Linked DNA regions of Homo sapiens: region 2 is linked to region 1. The links are contacts of gene promoters, found by promoter capture Hi-C in human tissues and cell types (Jung and others, 2019). All regions are on one chromosome and are shown on one strand. The core of a region is centred on a gene start or on the middle of the fragment in contact, and the rest is flanking DNA. Distances in the headings are between cores, read along the strand shown. Region 1 holds the start of CCM2L (CCM2 like scaffold protein). Region 2 overlaps XKR7 (XK related 7).

The links. The method cuts DNA at HindIII sites, captures the fragments that hold promoters and counts their contacts. A contact is called where the count stands out against the background at its distance.
Region 2: a fragment that was not itself captured here is called in contact with the fragment with the promoter of CCM2L in region 1 in 11 of the 25 tissues and cell types used here (IMR-90 fibroblasts, bladder, lymphoblastoid cells and 8 more).

What each region holds. Positions count from the first base shown.
Region 1 is chr20:32,006,913-32,011,860 of GRCh38, forward strand. It overlaps CCM2L (CCM2 like scaffold protein), which reads left to right and starts at 3,526. Exons shown (of 10, transcript NM_001365692.1): 1 at 3,526-3,572. The coding sequence starts at 3,543. It also overlaps the pseudogene RNA5SP481. RefSeq lists enhancers at 3,348-3,875, 4,786-4,948. The HindIII fragment of the contact is 15,048 bases long and covers 1-4,948 here.
Region 2 is chr20:31,970,412-31,975,129 of GRCh38, forward strand. The region is part of intron 1 of XKR7 (XK related 7); the gene reads left to right. Among named protein-coding and RNA genes, the nearest start is that of XKR7, 4.6 kb to the left of the region's middle. RefSeq lists enhancers at 1,665-2,166, 2,167-2,666 and a silencer at 1,755-2,049. The HindIII fragment of the contact is 4,685 bases long and covers 1-3,944 here.

The sequences.
Region 1 (4,948 bases), core at 2,276-4,775:
GTTTTAAGAGAGAATAAATGTTCCTTCTTGTCTAAGCCACCTTTGGCGGGGTTGTCTGTTCCTTGCAGGCAGAACTCTGGCACTGTGTTTGCTCAAGCTGTTCCCTCTGCCCAGAGTAACTTTCCTTCCATTCACCCTTCAAGGTTTGGCTTGAATGCCACCGGCCTGGGGAATGGCTCCTGATTCTGCCTTTCCCAAACAAGTCGCTGGCCTGATACCAGAGTTCTTGGCTTGTGTGTCTTTGTCTCTAACCAGATCATGGTCAGCATGTGCACTGACCACCTGCTGCTAATATCCCCACTCCTGCCCATGGCAGGCATTGATAATCAATCCCTTCTTCCTGCTGGGAGTAGATCCGGTTTTTATAATCCTCTACGCAGCCCTCCAGGCAGCCCCTGCCAATCAACTGGAGGTGGTTCAAAAGAGATGAATCCTATCTGCCACAATTGTTAAGTCTTTGAGAGCAGGGACTTTGTTTTGCTCATCTCTTCTTTGATTCACAAGCTAATTTTAATAATATGTTATCATTGTGCACTTCTGTTCCCATTCAATCCCTGCAGCAGCCTTCCAAGGCAGGTACTGCCATTATCCTGCTTTTGACACGTGAGGGCTCTGAGGCGCTAAGAGATGAGGTAATGTGTTCAAGGTCATATACATTTGAGCCTATATCCACCATCTCCAACCACTTCCGCTGACATTTACTAAGCACTTCATCTGTTATGGCTCTGCAGGGAGCACTGCAGGGAATACAGAGATAGTTTTCTAATTTTAGTGGCATGCAAAACACTTATTGTCCTATTTGAGATTCCCAGCAGTTCAGTGATGTTTGGAGCTAGTCCAGGAATAATATAAGCTTCCATTTTATAGACAGGGAAATTGAGGCCCAGAGAGAGGAAAAGGCTTGCAAAAGCCAGTCATGGAGATGCCAGAGCAAGAGACCACATGTCTCATGCCCGGCTGCTGCTCCAAGGGTGGGAATTCTGGGCTGGCTCAAGGGGTTAAGTTGGAGCTTTCACATCCAGAGCAGAGTCAGGAATTGGCTAGCACACCCTGGCCTCTTCCTGTTCGCCTGGCAGGCTGAGTGGAGATCTCACTTCCTGAGCTGGGGGGTGACCCGGCAGGATGCAGGGGAGCAGGAGGGAGTGGCTGTGAGAGCCAGCACTAAGCAACCTGGGCCATTTCCCCTCCAAGGGAGGGGAAGGAAGAGGAAGGGCTAGTGGCTAGGAGTCTCCTGTAGCTCTCACACCCAGAAGCGCGTTGGGGAGCTCTGACCCTCCCTTCAGGGCACTGATCTTGAACACCAGGCTTTCAGAAAAAGCCTTTCAGTAGAATCCAGTGCATTGGTACTTTACAGTTTCTAACTGCTCTTCCATCCATGGCCTGTGTCTTTCTGGCCACAGCTCTGATGAGCAGAGCAGGGCTTTGGGAAATTATTATTCCCATTGGAAAGATAAGAAAGCTGACCGATCTCGTCTGATCTCGGAAGCTAAGCAGGGTCGGGCCTGGTTAGTACTTGGATGGGAGATAAGAAAGCTGACGCCAAGAGAGGTTACAATGAGCAACCTGGACCAGGTCATATACAGCAAATCAGTTCCAGAGCTTAGGTCTCCAGAACCCAGGTGTCTTGGCAAGGTGTGGATGGGCCACACAGAACCTTTCCATCTGTCCTGGGTGGGGCATGCAGAATGCATAGGTCCTAGAGGTAAGGAACGCTAGGCTCAGATCCAGACCAGCCAGAAATCCCAGGTCCTCCTCTTACTCACTGTGTGACCTCCTTGAACCAGGCTCTGAACTTCAGCCTCAGTTTCAAAAATCTGTATAATAGGTACTATCATGGTACTCAACACTGTGAGTAAGTTAAAATATGTAAAGTGTTCAGCACAGAGCCACAAAGGGGACCTTGCCTCCCTAATATACTCCCAAGAGAGCAAAACAGCTCAAGACCCTATGAACATGGTCAGAATAAAAATGGAGTCACTAATGTTAAGAAAACCTTGACAAATAGAGCTGGGGAAGGCCATAGAGGGTTTTCATGCTTGCATAACAAATAAGACTGATAACAAAACAGATAACAACAAGACTGATAACAAAAAAGACTACAAAAATCACAACCTTGCACAAAGGCCATTGAAACCTTGCACAAAAAATACTTCCGCAAGGACATCTGCCCAGCAACTGCCTGTCCAACTTTAGACTGGCATCACCCTTGCTATTGATCTTTGCAATCAAGAATAATTATTTCAGAAACAATAATGTAATCCTTATTTTTTTCCTTTAAAAATCTTTGTCTTCCCCCCACCTCCCTGAAAATGCACATCGCTTACTATGGCATATGGGTAATTCCCACTGCAATGCTTAATTCCTAAGTGAAACATCTTTTATTTTAGAGAGCCTCTGTTTGTTCTTTAATTTGACAACCACTAAGCAGGTAAACAGTTAATGTTTACTGAGCACTTATTTTTTTTCAGTTTTTTTTTTTTTTTTTTTTTTTTTTGAGATGGAGTCTCAGCCAGTCACCAAGGCTGGAGTGTAATGGCTGGATCTCAGCTCACTGCAACCTCCACCACCCAGGTTCAAGCGCTTCTCCTGCCTCAGCCTCCAGAGTAGCTGGGATTACAGGCATGTGCCACCGCACCCGGCTGATTTTTGTATTTTTAGTAGAGACAAGGTTTCACCATGTTGGCGAGGCTGGTCTCGAACTCCTCACCTCAGGTGATCTGCCTGCCTCAGCCTCTCAAAGTGCTGGGATTACAGGTGTGAGCCACCACGCCCAGCCTTACTGAGTACTTAATATGTGCCAGAAGTTCTTCTAGGTGCATTTAATCCCCGCAAGGTCACTATGAGGTTAAACTAGTATTATGCTCATTTTAAAGACGGGAAAACTGAGGCACTGGTGGTTAAGGGACTTCCCAAAGGTCATAACCCTAGTAAGTGCCAAAGCCAGGATTCGAATTCAAGCAGCCTATCTTCAAAGCCCACGCATACTGCCTCCCTTAATAGTAATGATTAATTTTTTAAAATCATAACTTGCTTGGCTACAATACTCTCTATAAGGCACTTTCCATCCACCTTTTCATTTCTCACCACAGCAGCCTAGGGAGGGAGGCAGTGTTGACTCCCAACTTATAGAGAGGAGGGGGAAACAGGCTGTGACAGGGGGAACTGACTTGCCTTGCCAAGGTCACACAACAAGGTCAGTGGCAGAAGTAGGGCTGGAACTTGGAATTTTCCAAACCAGGACTTCAAATGTGGGGGGCCCTTTCCCAGCCTTGGCCAATTCCCAAGCTCCCCCAATAACCCGCCTTCTGGCTAGAGGCCTTGAGCCTCCCTCCTCAGGTCAGCTCTGCCTGGGCTTCCACCCTTCAGCTGCAGGGTCCCAAGGCTGTGTCCTCCACACCCCCTGCCCTCCCCATCAGATGGGAGGGGCAGGAACTCCAGGGCTGGTGGAGTTTCCGACCAGGCAGGAAAAAGAACAAAGGAACTGGATGTGGGGGTGGAAGGGATGGCCAGGAGGGTGGCAGGAGTAGAGGGGACATTTCACCATGGAATATGAAGTCAAGAAAGGGAAGAAGGTAGGTGGGAGGTTGGGAGGGACGAAGGGAGAGGAATGTCCCCAAAGCTGGGGAAGGGGGCAAACTGGGGCGGGGTGGGGGGTCGGTAGCGAGGGGCATAAGTGGAGCCTTTCTTCTCATTTGGAAGTAACTTCCTTCCCACTCTTGGACAGCCAGACAGTCAGGCTCTAAACTCCCTGTTTCTCCACTCTCAGTGGCCTCTGGCATCCCTAACGTGGACAGACAGGGACCTTCTCAGGAAACCTGGCCAGACGGACTCAGTTTGGGAGATTCTCCACACCTGCTTCCCTGGTGTTCCCCGCAGCTCCCTCCTGCAGCCTCTCAGACAGACGGACAGACAGACACCCAGCAGATCCATTCTCCTGCTCGTCACTGCCCCAAACAGAAGGACTCAGCCAGGGCAATTCCGATAGGATGTTGCCTACACAGGCTTGAGTCTCCCACCTGCCCCCTGCCCCTCCCACCTTTCTACAAGGGCGTATGTAAGGCGTCAGCCAGAAGCCATTCCCCTCACCCCTTCTGACTCTGAAGTTTTCTAGTATGCTTCTCTGGGTGTCTCACCTGGTTGTCTTTGGAGTTCAGGGAGGCGCTCTGATTTTAACTTCCATCTTACCCCCATTTCCACCCTCCCCTCTACCCCACCCCCACCAGAAACATATGTCCGGGCTGTTCTAAAAGGTGCCCACATGAATCACAGAGGGCTCAGAAGGGAGCCAAGACATACGTGCATGTTTTCTCTTAGTTTGTTCTTTTAATAGACATTTATTGAGTGCCTATTATGCACCAGGTATTTCTTTTTTTAAAGCAATAAATAAGTTAATGTAAAATTGCATAGAAGGGCCGGGTGCAGTGGCTCACACCTGTAATTCTAGCACTTTGGGAGGCCGAGGCGGGTGGATCACCTGAGGTCAGGGGTTCGAGACCAGCCAGGCCAACATGGCGAAACCCTGTCTCTACTAAAAATACAAAAATTAACTGGGCATGGTGGCACATGCCTGTAATCCCAGCTACTAAGGAGGCTGAAGCTTGAACCTAGGAGGCAGAGGTTGCAGTGAGCCAAGATCGCGCCACTGCACTCCAGCCTGGGTGACAGAGTGAGACTCTGTCTAAAATAAATAAATAAATACATAAATAAAAATTTTTTAAAAATCATAGGAGGTCCCATACTCAGTGCTGGAGGAAACTGATCAGTTTGAGTCGAGAACTGACGGGTGGAAGGAAAGTGGGTAGGGAAGAGTGTTTGAGGCAGAGGAACAGCATGTGCAAAACCCCACAGTGGGAAGTCACATAGCAAGCCAGAGGGACTGAAGGAGGACTGTGTAGTGGGGGCCCAGGGGACAAGAATGAGGCAGATGGGGCTGGACAGGTGGGCAGAG
Region 2 (4,718 bases), core at 352-2,851, 38 kb before region 1:
CCATGGGTGTGGGGTCCCAGGGGAGTAGCTAGAATTGCTAAGGATCCCCTCAGCTCTATGGTTTCTTGGATATGGATAAAAGGACTAGCTATTTCTACTATCTCCCATTTGCAAAATGAGGAGGCTGGGATGAGATAAGTTTGTAGGGATAACAATCTAATAGCTCTTAGGTTGAATGTGGCTTGTGGAAGTGTTTTGTGTGGCTTGCATAGTATTTTAAAAACCCAGAGTCGTAGCTTCCCTTTAAAAAAATTGGATCTAGCAGTATCAATCCTGTAACAATTTAGAAAGAGTCTATGTGCTCTAATTTGTCCATCTTTCCCTTTGATCATATCTGTACTATTTCACTTAGACATGAAAGCCCTAATTTACAGTTCTATAACAATTATTTTATTAAACACTGACTTTGTGCCAAGCCTACTGGTTGCCTTTTTACCTGCTTTATTTCCTGTACCCCTTCTAATCATCCTGTCATGTGGTTAGCATTATAATTTCTACTTGACAGATGAGGGAATGGAGGCTCAGAGAGGGGGCATCCTTGTCCAAGGTCACACAGCTAGGAACTTGAAGAGCTGAGACTCCAGGCTCTCTGCCTTTAAAGCCTGAGTTCAATTTATCCACCTTGTAATTCTGCCACTAAAGTGTCCCTCAAGCTTAAAGAAGTATGAATCTGAGATTCCAAGATTCCAGTATGATAGAAAGTCAGGGCTTCTGTTGCACTGAGATAAGAATGTGAAAAGAGGGGCAGGGAGTTGAACTATGTGGGTGAGGACGGGAACAGTGTGTATTGTGGGGAAAAGGCTGGATTCGGGGGTGGTCTGGTCAGGAGGCTGACATCTTTATCCTAGTTTGTAACTATAGTTTGCTGGGTGACCTTGGGCAAGGCTCTTTCCATCTTTGGGTCTCGGTTTCCCTGTGTGTGAAATGAGATTCAATGTGATGACCTTAAGAGTTTCCCATTCCTGAAATTCTGACTCTGGGTCTATTGCCAAAGCAAAAGCCTCTGGGCCCTTGCCCCCAAAATCTTTGGATTCTAAAATGGCTAAGGGCCTGGATAAATGGAGGGAAAACCCAGAGAAGGTATAGAGAAGCTGCAGGGGCTGGCATTCCTAGAAATTAAGCAATGTTGGCCCAGCACATTTGCTTACCACGTGAGATGTTCCCACAGATGTTCTGAGTGGTGGGGCCTGGGGTAATGAAGAGGGAGATGTGTGATTGAGTCCTCCAGAATCACACCTGGGAGGCTAGGCAGTCACTCACCTCCTGATCCCATTTCCTCAATTCTGAATAAAATAATTATAATCATGAAGATATTTTTCAACCTCTTAGACTTGTAAAATCCTGAATTAAAAATTCAAATGCTTTGAGGACCCAGGCAGGTAACAGACCATAAGACCATAAGATACAAGGGGTGTCAGACAAGAGGACATTCAGGGGCAAGTAGTGTCCGAGGAAAAGGGAAGCTCCAGCTGATCATGCCATGAGAAATCGTGGACCCAGTCTTGATTTCTCAAGAGAAATGGGAAATTGGGATTTTTCCGTGAACTCTCCAAAATTTAACTACTAATTAAAATGTTTAAAAATAGTGTCAACCAAAGGAAACATATTTATTAGCCTGTCTTCTTTGTAACCTCTGGTTTAGCTCTTCAAATTGATAAGGTCTTTTCACACAGAAGATTTTATTACTAATTTAAACATAAAATGAAGCTCTGAAGAGAGAGAGGAGGAGAAAGCATACACAGACACTGCACACCTACCGTGTCCCCACAGGCCCTGTGTGAGTGTTTCAGGCATGTGATCTCATGTTACTCTGAAACCCTCCCCCCTGGTGACTATTGATATACCCATTTATCAGATAAGGAACCTTGTCCAAAAGTCACCCACTGAGGAAGTGAGGAAAGGTGATCAGTCCCAAACCTAGCTCTATCTTTTACACCACACACTGGCTACTTTGGGACATGCCAGAACAATATCTTTGTGCACAGAGAGATTGAACTCTGAGGGAACAGCAAACAGATCCTCTGGCGGGGCACGAAGCTGGCTGTGGCCTGGACACCAACCTGCAACTTCATCCCTCCCTTCCCTTTAAACTCTCTGAGCTGTTAAACTGCCCAGGGTTCTTAAGCTAATTAAAGTCCTAACCCTGTCCCCTCTGACCCTGTAGGCAGCAGAGCAGTAAGCCATGAATCCTGCTTTTCCTAATCTTGAGCTCAGTGGGCCCCAGCTTCACCCAGATAAGCATGGTTTGCTAAGCCAATTAGTGGGAGACGATCTGACATGGGATTCCTGCCAGGCTTTCGGGATCTGGGAACCCCAAAATGGGGAGAAAATTAGGCAATTGGGATTTAGGGGCCCTCCCTCTAATGCCCTCTCTATGCATAGGCCCAGACACTGCACTCTATGTCACCTAAGAAGCCCTGCATGACAGAGAAGTTCTGGAATGAGTTAGTGACCTATTGGAAGGAAATGTCAGGCTCTGGATTTCCCCTCTGGGAAACTACATTCTTGGCATAACGGTTGAGAGGGTTGAGAGCACGGACTCTAGATTCAAGTGTCCTCAGTTTAAATCCAGACTTTACTACTTCTTATATGTGACCTTGACAAGGCAAATAATCTCTCATCCGTTGTAAACTAGGGACCAAAATTGTACCCACCCGCCTCTTAGGTTGTTTCAAGGTTTAATGAGATAATGTGTAAGGGTTCAGCAAAGGGCTCATTCCATCGTTAAATGCTCAGAAACTGCTGGCAATGATTAGTGCATTAGCTTGGGCTTTGCTCCCTGTGGAACAAAGCTTTGTTCACGGAGCACATGGCAGGACAGCAAGGGGGTCCTGAAGTCCCTTGAAGCCATAATGACATGGCAGTCATTCATTTAATCTGCAGTCATTCATTCAGCAGACATTTATTAAGCACCTGCTGTATACCAGGCACTGTTCTAAGTGCTGGGAATAGAGTGGTGAACAAGACAAAGTCCTTGCCCTCTTGGAGCTCAATAGCCTAATGAAGGAACCAATAAGAAAATAAACTATGATATATATTATATGGGATATATAATACCTGGGCCAGATCGTGATAAGTGCTATGGGGAAAAAAATGAAACAGGGCAGGGAGCTACTGGAGTGCCAGGGAGAGGTGTGGCTCTTTGAGATAGGGTGGTCAGGGTGGACCTCTCCAAGGAGGTGGCATGTGGGCAAAGGGCTGCACGAGGTGAGGACAAGCTGTGTAGAGGTCTTGGGGAGGGTTTTGCAGGCAAAGGAAAAGGGAAGGGCAAGGAGAAGGCCTGTGTGGCAGAAATAGAGTGAGGGGAGCATGTTTGGAGATGCTGGTGGACAGATTGGCAGGGGCGAGGTCATGCAGGGCCTCAGAGGCCATGGCAAGGACTAGGGCTTTTACTCTTCATGACACGGGGAGCCCAGGATAATTTGGCCAGAGAAGGAACATGATCTTGACTTGTGTTTTGCAATGTCCACTCTGGCTGCTGGGTGGGGAATAGACTGGAGGGGCCGGGCACAGTGGCTCACGCTTGTAATCCCAGCACTTTGGGAGGCCGAGGCAGGCGGATCACGAGGTCAAGAGATCGAGACCATCCTGGCCAACATGGTGAAAGCCGGTCTCTACTAAAAATACAAAAATTAGCTGGGCATGGTGGTGCGCACCTGTAATCCCAGCTACTCGGGAGGCGGAGGCAGGAGAATCGCTTGAACCTGGCAGGTGGAGGTTGCAGTGAGCCGAGAGTGAGCCACTGCACTCCAGCCTGGGTGACAGAGCAAGACTCCATCTCAAGAGAAAAAGCATAAAAAAGAGAGAGAATAGACTGGAGGGAGGCAGAGTAAGCCTGGAGATGCATGAGGAGGCTGCTACAAAGATGCAGGAGAGAGACAATGGAGACTGGATCAAACTGTAGCAACAGGGATGGGGGTCTGCTTCAGGCTGAGCTAATGCGACCTCTTTCCTTCTTTGGTCCTCAGTCTCTCCACTGGGGCCAGAGTTAATGGTTCAGCATCCACTCTCTGGAATCAGCCATATCCTGCACCTGCCACTTTCTGTGATTTGGGGCAAGTGGCATGACTTGTCTGTGCCTTGATTTTCTCATCTGCTAAATGGACACTCTAATAATAGCACCTATCGCATGGTGCTTGAGGTAGTAGAAAATTAAATAATGTTTAGTGTTCAGCACAGTGCCTGGAACATAGGAAGTTCTCAACAATGATAATTAGACATTGTTATTTGTAAAACAGGTCAGGGGTTGGATTCCATCATTTTCAAACTGTGTTTTATAGCCCTGTCTCCATCATTTTAACCCAAGTATCTCTGAATGTCTCTTTTATGACATGTCTAAGATTTTGTTTTGAATAATCTGTCCTACAGCTGACACTTGATTACAGTCCCCTGAACTCAGTGACCATCCATGAGGTTCCTCCCTGCTCTGCCTTTGTAGGGTTGTTCCAGTTTGGGCCTCACCACTCACCTCCTGGGAGACCCCTCTCCAGGAGGCTCTCCACCCCCACCCTGCCTCCTCCCCTTGCCCATCCAGCTGCCATGGACCATTAGAGCTGCTCCTAACAGACACAGCGGCGGCGGTTGGGCCCAGCGTCCCCTGTTTGATCTATAAAGACCACACAGGAGAAGCTCTGGGGAGTGGGAGGGCGGAGGGCTGCCAGGAAATGGCTTTGAACCCAGCATCTGGGGCGCAGGTCCCTGGGGAGAGGAGGGAGGAT